2 separate regions of the Homo sapiens genome follow, and region 2 is linked to region 1. Evidence: promoter capture Hi-C in human tissues and cell types (Jung and others, 2019). All regions are on one chromosome and are shown on one strand. The core of a region is centred on a gene start or on the middle of the fragment in contact, and the rest is flanking DNA. Distances in the headings are between cores, read along the strand shown.

What was found. Contacts are between HindIII fragments. The study calls those that stand out against the background at their distance.
Region 2: a fragment that was not itself captured here is called in contact with the fragment with the promoter of ELAVL1 in region 1 in 1 of the 25 tissues and cell types used here (dorsolateral prefrontal cortex).

Annotation. Positions count from the first base shown.
Region 1 is chr19:8,003,362-8,007,290 of GRCh38, reverse strand. ELAVL1 (ELAV like RNA binding protein 1) reads left to right here and starts at 1,650. Exons shown (of 6, transcript NM_001419.3): 1 at 1,650-1,796. It overlaps LOC105372266 (a long non-coding RNA gene), which reads right to left and starts at 1,478. Exons shown (of 4, transcript XR_936302.2): 1 at 1,333-1,478. RefSeq lists silencers at 1,275-1,764, 1,995-2,194, 2,225-2,274. The HindIII fragment of the contact is 8,326 bases long and covers 1-3,929 here.
Region 2 is chr19:7,855,419-7,859,285 of GRCh38, reverse strand. It overlaps EVI5L (ecotropic viral integration site 5 like), which reads right to left. Exons shown (of 20, transcript NM_001159944.3): 11 at 3,218-3,271; 12 at 2,162-2,194; 13 at 955-1,095. Among named protein-coding and RNA genes, the nearest start is that of PRR36, 17 kb to the left of the region's middle. RefSeq lists an enhancer at 1,184-1,969. The HindIII fragment of the contact is 4,169 bases long and covers 1-3,631 here.

The DNA of each region.
Region 1 (3,929 bases), core at 401-2,900:
CACGAGAATCACTTGAATAGGGAGGCAGAGGTTGCAGTGAGCTGAGATCACACCACTGCATTCCAGCCTGCACAGCAGAGTGAGACCCTGTCTCCAAAAAAAAAAAAAAAAAAAAAAAAAACTTCTAAGAAAATATGATTAAAAAAAGAAACAGGCTGGGCACCGTGGCTCCCGCCTGTAATCCCAACACTTTGGGAGGCCAAAGCAGGAGGATCACTTAAGTCTAGAAGTTTGAGACCAGCCTAGGCAATACAGCAAGACCTCATCGCTACAAAAAAATAAAACATTAGCCAGGCATAGTGGCACATCCTGTAGTCTAAGCTACTCAGGAATCTGAAGCCGGAGGATTGATTGCCTGAGCTGGGGAAGTTGAGGCTGCAGTTAGCTGTGATCATACCACCGCACTCCAAATTGGGTGACAGAGTGAGATCCTGTCTCAAAAAAAAAAAAAAAAAAAGAAAAACAAAATTGTAGGCCAGGCGCAGTGGCTCAAGCCTGTAATCCCAGCACTTTGGGAGGCTGAGGCGGGCAGATCACGAGGTCAAGAGATACAGATCATCATGGCCAACACGGTGAAACCCCGTCTCTACTAAAAATACAAAAATTAGCTGGTTGTGGTGGCGCAGCGCCTGTAGGCCCAACTACTTAGGAGGCTGAGGCAGGAGAATCGCTTGAACCTGGGAAGCGGAGGTTGCAGTGAGCGGAGATCACGCCACTGCACTCCAGCCTGGCGACAGAGCGAGTCTCCGTCTCAAATAAATAAATAAATAAATAAAAATAAAAAGACTATTATTTTCAGATCATAAAAAAAAAAAAGAAAAAATTAGGCAGAGTGCAGGCATGCCTGTAATCCCAGCTCTTTGGGAGGCGGAGGCAGGAGAATCGCTTGAGTCCAGGAGTTCGAGACCAGCCTGGGCAACAGAACCAGAGCCCATCTTTACATAAAAAAAAATTAAACATGTAGCTTGCATGTATTTCTACTAGGGCATTCTAGGCCAGCGCTGGTTTAGAATGTTAGCCCAATAAGACCAGGTATTTTTTTTCTGCTCACTGCCCATACAGTGATTGACACACAGTAGGCGCTCAATGACATTTTAATGAATGAATGAGATGCTGAGCCTTCGGGAACTGGCTTGCTCAAAGAGCCAGCACCGATGAAGCGCTGACCACGTTCCATGCCCCGCCTCCTCAGCGCACCAGAGAAGGAAACTGAGGCCCGGCAAGGTGACGTCAGCTCCTGCCCAACGGCACGTAGTGCGGAAACGTCGGGGCCGGGATTCGAACCCAGGTTCTGTACCCGTAACCCCGGCGCGCTGACCTTTCCTACCTTACCGGGCGGCGGCAGGACAGACAGGTGCGGGACACACGGCGAGCGCTCAACCAGAGGCGCCGCTCCTCAGCCACCGCCTTCCGTCAGCCTCCGAGGGCCGGAACCCAGTTCGCCCCCTCCGCGGCCATCGCTGGCTGCCCGCGTCTCCGCCGGCCGCGGAGCACTTCGCAGGCGGCGCCGACCGGAAGTCCCGCCTCTCCCGCGCGCCCCGGAGCGCCGCGACAGCTACGCCGGCCAATGAGCAGCGCGCCGTGGCGGACGTCGGCCAATGGGCTCGCGCGCGGGGGGGGCGTGTCCGGGCCGCGGGCCGGAGCGGGTCGTGCGCGCTGAGGAGGAGCCGCTGCCGCCGTCGCCGTCGCCGCCACCGCCGCCACCGCTACCGAGGCCGAGCGGAGCCGTTAGCGCCGCGCCGCCGCCGCCTCCCGCCCGCCCCGGAGCAGCCCCGGGCCCGCCCGCCCGCATCCAGGTGAGGCGGTGGGGGGCCTTCGGCGGCGCCCGACGGGGTAGGCCGCGGCAGGCCTGAGCTCGCCTGGCCTGGCCGCGGGGCGCCCGCGGGCCTGCACCGGCCGAGGCCCAGGCCGCGCCGGACCGGGGGAGGGGACGCGCGCTGGGGCCGCGGCGGGCGGGTCGGGGCGGGCCGGTGTGGGCGCCGGCTACAGGCCCCGGGGCCGGATTCCTCTGGCGCCTCGAGGGACGGGCGAGGGGGATACGGCGTGGGCATGCGCCGGGGGGCCGGGCTGCACGGCCGGGGGCCCCGGTCGCCTTGGAAGCCCGGGCTCCGGGGGCGGGAGAGTGGGGCCAGCTACGGGGGAGCGCCGGGAACGCTTTGAGCGCGCAGAGGTCACGGCCCACGGGCTTGCTCCCCCGGGAAATCCCACAGATTCTTTTGTGGTCGTTGTCAGAGCACCGCGGCCGGTGCGAGGTCCTTTGAGAAGTGTGCAAACCCTTCAGTAGATACACGGGAGTCCTGGGGGAAAAAAAAAATCTAAACTGCATCTTTTTTTGAGCGCCATCTCTAACAAAGCTGTTTGTGGGGCGTGGGACGTTAGGATTTGTAAAATATGTGTGTGTGCCTGTTGGAAACACAAGCTGCACACAGTTGAACAATGGGGGATGGATGCCCTTCCTTCCTTTTCCGGTGCTCTGGGCTGCGGGGCTTGTTAAAATGGGTTTTGGTCCCTACTGTGTGCAGGGCAGGTGGAGAAGAACTTCTGCACAACTTCTGCATGGGCTTCCCGTGGTGGGACTGAGCCCCCTTGCTAGAAAGTGTTCATCTAAGATCCGGATGGCCAGAAATGGGAAGATGAGGAGAATGATCTGTCTAGAGCAGGGTTTCTCGACGTTGGCCCTACTGATGTTTGGGGTCAGATAGTTTTTGGTTGTGGTGGTAGTGGGGGCTTCCCTGTGCAATGTAGGAAGTTGAGCCGTATTCCTGGCCTCTACCCACTAGATGCCAGCAGTATCCCCATGCTCCAAGTCGTGAGGATCAAAAGTATCTCCAAACATTGCCAGATGGCTCGGGTTGCGGGGGAGGGGTCTCTTCCACTCTCACACGCACAGGTGAGAACCATTACTGAACTAAATGCTCTTCCTCCAAAAGTTCTAATGCCCTGGGAGATGCTCCCAAGACCTCGAACAAGCTTGACTCTGTTGAGCCTTAGTTTTCTTATCTATAAAATGGGAAGGACAAAAGTGTGGTGCAAATTGAAGAGGGTGGAAATCCCGTTGCGTTGTGCGTGGTCTGTGCCTGGTAGGCACTGAATAAATGATGTTGTACATAGCCACCAGTATTTATTGAGGATTTACTATGTGCTTGACACTTTGTGGACGTTTGTCTGCAGTCCTTGAGGCAGGTGATGTTATAATTTCCATTAATTTCCATTTTAGAGATGAAGAAACTGAGGCTTAGATGGGTCACTTGATGTGACCAGTCTCATGCACTAAAGTGGCTGCGCCAGGGTTTGAACTCGGGCCCTCTGATTCAAAACCCTTACTCTTAACCACTCGATTGTACTGCTCCTATAATCACAAGGCTCCAGGGCACTCCAGTTGTCATCGAATATTTTCTGTGTGCAAAGTTCTGTGCTGGGATCTATTATCAAATTCTGCAACTTCGAGGCCCACAAAGAGGTTGAGATACACGAACGTCTCAAATGTGGAAGGAAATAATACTGTTTATGTTGATGCATTGGTTTTGAGCAGACAGAGTTTCAGTCTGGATGTGTTGAGTCTGAGATCATGGTGCTATTTCTTTTTTTTTTTTTTTTTTGAGACGGAGTCTCACTCTGCCGCCCAGGCTGGAGTGCAGTGGTGCGATCTCGGCTCACTGCAAGCTCCGCCTCCCGGGTTCACGCCATTCTTCTGCCTCAGCCTCCCGAGTAGCTGGGACTACAGGCGCCGGCTACCACGCCCGACTAATTTTTTGTACTTTTAGTAGAGACGGGGTTTCACCGTGTTAGCCAGGATGGTCTCGATCTCCTGACCTTGTGATCCGCCCGCCTCGGCCTCCCAAAGTGCTGGGATTACAGGCGTGAGCCACCGCGCCCGGACCATGGTGCTATTTCTTTTTTTTTTTTTTTCTTTTTCTTTTTTTTTTTTT
Region 2 (3,867 bases), core at 298-2,797, 150 kb after region 1:
GCAGGGCTTAGGACTGCAGCCACTGGGGGTCCCTGCGATCAGGAAGGCCAACTGCTGAGTGCAGCTGCAGTTAAGTTTTTTTTTTTTTTTTTTTTGAGATGGAGTCTTGCTCTGTCACCCAGGCTGGAGTGCGGTGGTGCCATCTTGGCTCACTGCAACCTCCACCTCCCGGGTTCAAGTGATTCTCCTGCCTCAGCCTCCTGAGTAGCTGGGACTACAGGTGCGCACCACCATACCCAGCTTATTTTTGTATTTTTATTAGAGATGGGGCTTCATCATGTTGGCCAGGCTGGTCTCGAACTCCTAACCTCAGGTGATCCACCTGCCTCAGCCTCCCAAAGTGCTGAGATTAAGGCGTGAGCCACTGCACCAGGTCGCAGTTAAGTTCTAAAAGCTTTCAGGAGAAGAAAATCTTGGGGTGGGGCCCCACTCATGGGCCTGCCCATCATGGGACCCAAAGTTCATGGCCCTCAAGACACTCAAGGTGCCCCCTCAGCCCCACCCTGCTGGCTCAGAGCTCCCCAAACAGTCCCGGACTGCCCTGCTCCCATTCTCCATGGCTGGCCCCCCAGGGACACCTAACAATCCTTCAGACCCTGGGGACAGGCAAGAGCCTCCGTAAGGAGTCACAGCCCTGTCTGCTGCCTGTGACACAGAGGAAACCCTGCAGGGACAGCCCGGTCTTCAGAGGCCTCCGTGCTGAGGCTGGGGGTTGGGAAGTCAGATACTGCAGACACACTATGAGGTGGCAAGAAATGGATATCAGGATGTCTCAGAATGTGGAGCTGCTGGGGGAGAATCTGCGCTTGTCTCTGGGTTCCCCTTACCCCAGAAAGGAACAGGAGGGCCAGGTGCTGAGGCGGGGCAGATTATGAGCCCTGAAAGAAAACCGTTGGGCGGGGGCGGGGGCGCGGGTCATGGCCCCGCCCAGCAGCCCCGCACACCCGCCCCTACCTGCTGCTCCTGTAGCTGCCGGATGGTGCTCTGTGCCTTCTGCAGGTCCTCGGCCGCCGAGCTGCACTGCTGCCGCACCACCGCCAGCTCCCGCTTGATGACGTAGTTCTCCTCCGCCTCCTGCGCCCGTGTCACTTGCCCCTGAGAACAGCGAGGACAGGGGGCAGGGGGAGGCCGTGACCCTCGGCTCCCACCCAAGGCCCTGCCTCCCGCCACAGGGGGAGGCCCAGAGAGTGGAGGTGGGGGGAAGTGAGGTGGGGGCCTCCCGTACTCAGAGCCTGGGATGAGCGTCCCACTGGGCCTGGGGACGTGGGTGGGTGACAGGCAGGAATAGGACACCTGGAGGAGCCCGGGAGGAACAGAGCTAGCCCTGGGCTTGGAAAGCTCCATCTCCTTCCCCACTCTGGCTCTCAGTCTCTGCCCCAGTTGGGATCCTTATCCAGGGGCACAGCGAGGCCACCTGTGCCTATTCATGCCAGACTCTGCCGGTGAGGGTGAGGATCTGGGGACAGCTGAGGCCCCGGCAGGAGAGGGCTGGGCTCCCCAGGGCATTCACCTCTCCCAGCGGCATCTTCTCTAGTCCTGGGCTCTGGGGCCTCCACCTGCCTGGAGCTAAGACCCCCTTTTTTCCCCCACCTCATCTTTGTCCCCTACCCAACTTGGGCCCCCCATTCCAGGCTCAAAGCCACCAGGTGGCGGGTGGCAGCTTCCAGATAAAGCCATTCAAGATGAGGTGGCAGCAGGAGCAGGTGAGCTAGAGAAGGTGGTAGCAGGCATTGCAGGTAGGAGCAGAGAGCAGCAGCGTGAGGGCCGGGCGTGTGTGTGCGTGTGTGTGTGTGCATGTGTTGTGTGTGTGTGTGACCGCAGCACTGCACACACCAGGGCCTTATGTGAATATGGTTTTAGGTTCCCCAGCCCTCCTGGGTCCCCACCCTGTGTCGCCCGGAGGAAGCTTTCTGTACATGCATGTGGACATTCACACCCAAACGCACTCACAGCCCCTCCACACACACCCTTCTCCCCACTTCACATGCCCCGCCCCCCCGGGAAGCCTCTGTGTCCCCCAGAAGCGGTCCCCAGCTGCTCCATGCATGGCGCCAGGCCTGCCCGCAGAATGGCAGGGAAGAGGCGGTTACTGGCTGTCATGTGCAGGGTGCAGGGAAGGGGCCAGGAAGGAATCCGGAGAGGGGATAAAAAGCTACAGTACCTGGATTAACCTATCAGCCAGAGCAGCGCTCTCCTACCCGGCGAAGGGGGTTCCCAGCGACAGGGGGAGGAGGCAGAGCGGAAGGCGCGGGGACAGGAGAGGGGAGACAGACAAGAACCACTTGTCACTAACGCAGTGGACTATCTCTAGAAGCGGGGGAGAGAGGAGGGAAGACCAGAGAACCAGCAGGAGAGGACCCGGAGGAAGACCAAAGCTAGAGCCAGCTCCGTCCTGGAGAGGGGTTCGGTGTGAGCGGGGAGGTCGGGGGTGCCCGCGGCTGTGGGGGAGGCCGCAGGGCTGGGAAACCCACTGTCCCACCCTCCAGGGTCAGCCGGGCCGCTGCTGGCTGGAAAAACTGTGGGGGGCAGGGGGACTTTTGGCTTCGTGCGGACCTCCTGGAGAGTGGGAGAGGAGGGGGTGCGTTGTAATTTTAAGGCAGAACAAGGCTTTGGGGTGAGGGCAACCAAATCCGGCTGCCAACCCACTTCCTGTGGCCAGTGGAGGGTCAAGTGAGGACGAGTGAGGAGCAGGAATTGGGGGCTCCCGGGGCTGGGGCTCAGTGAGCCCCCAATTCCACCCCCATCTTTAGCATGTTGGGGAGCAGAGTCCGGGCTGTGGCTCCCCACCATGGCGCCACGCTTCTCCTCCACTGGGTTTCCTTTCCTTTCTTTTGAGGGCAAGACTTCCAAATTACAGGGTGGGGTGGCTTGTGGCCCAATTACGGGGCTCGTCCATCAAAGTGGCAGTTCTCCCTCCTCCTCACCCCTCCCCGTCTGTGCAGCCGGGGAGGGCACAGAACACAAATGGATTCCCGTGGCTGCAGGCCACTGGGTTGTAACTCGCCCCCACTCCAGGATTAATCACCATACGAGTCGCCCCCAGTTGCAGGGCACTCCAAATCGGGTTCAGGTCGGGTCCTGGGGCAGGAAGGTAGGGCTGCTTAGTCCTCCAGAGAGGAGAAGACTTGGAGGAGTCCACCCCAGGTTAGCGGCCATGCCCCGCATGGTGGGTCACACCCCATGGCGACCATGTCCTCACAGTGGCCACGCCCCTCACCTTCTCTAGGGTTTCAATCCGCTGTTTCAGGAGCCGGTTCTCCGTCCGAAGTCTCTATGGGGGTGGGGGGAGATCACGTCATAGCCCGCCCCCCACGCCTGTCTACATGCACCCCTCATTTACCCACTGCCGGGGTCAGTCCCCTTAGGGCCAGGCCACTTTTCCGGGCAGGGCACAGCCAGCATCTTACGTTCTGGGTCAGCGATTTCAGAAAACAGGGCCAATTCCTGTTCAGACTGGCTTGATTACAAAAAAATAAAGTTTTAAAACAAACCTGGGTTCAGTAAAAATAACGTCAGTGCCTTCGTGGCTGTGTGTGTGTTTGGGGGCCAGTCAGTACCCACGCCCCCTCAGAAGACTCCTTCCCACACGTGGGTCAGTCTGCCAAGGGTTGTGCGGGAATCAGTGGGGGAAGCAGCTGTCGAGCAGCCACCACCCACCCCTCGCTGCTTTGCCCCAAGCACCCGGGTTCAATTCCGGGGGCAGGCTCCTCTTTGAGTCTGGGTCCAGCGTGCTGATCATGCATCCTTTCTCGACAACTACATTCCCATGACCTGCTGAGAGCAACCTGTCCCCAGTGGTTTTCTCTGTTCCCTGGCTGGGGTTTCGAAGACGTCTCCCTTGCTCCTGCCTTCCATTCTGTGCTGATG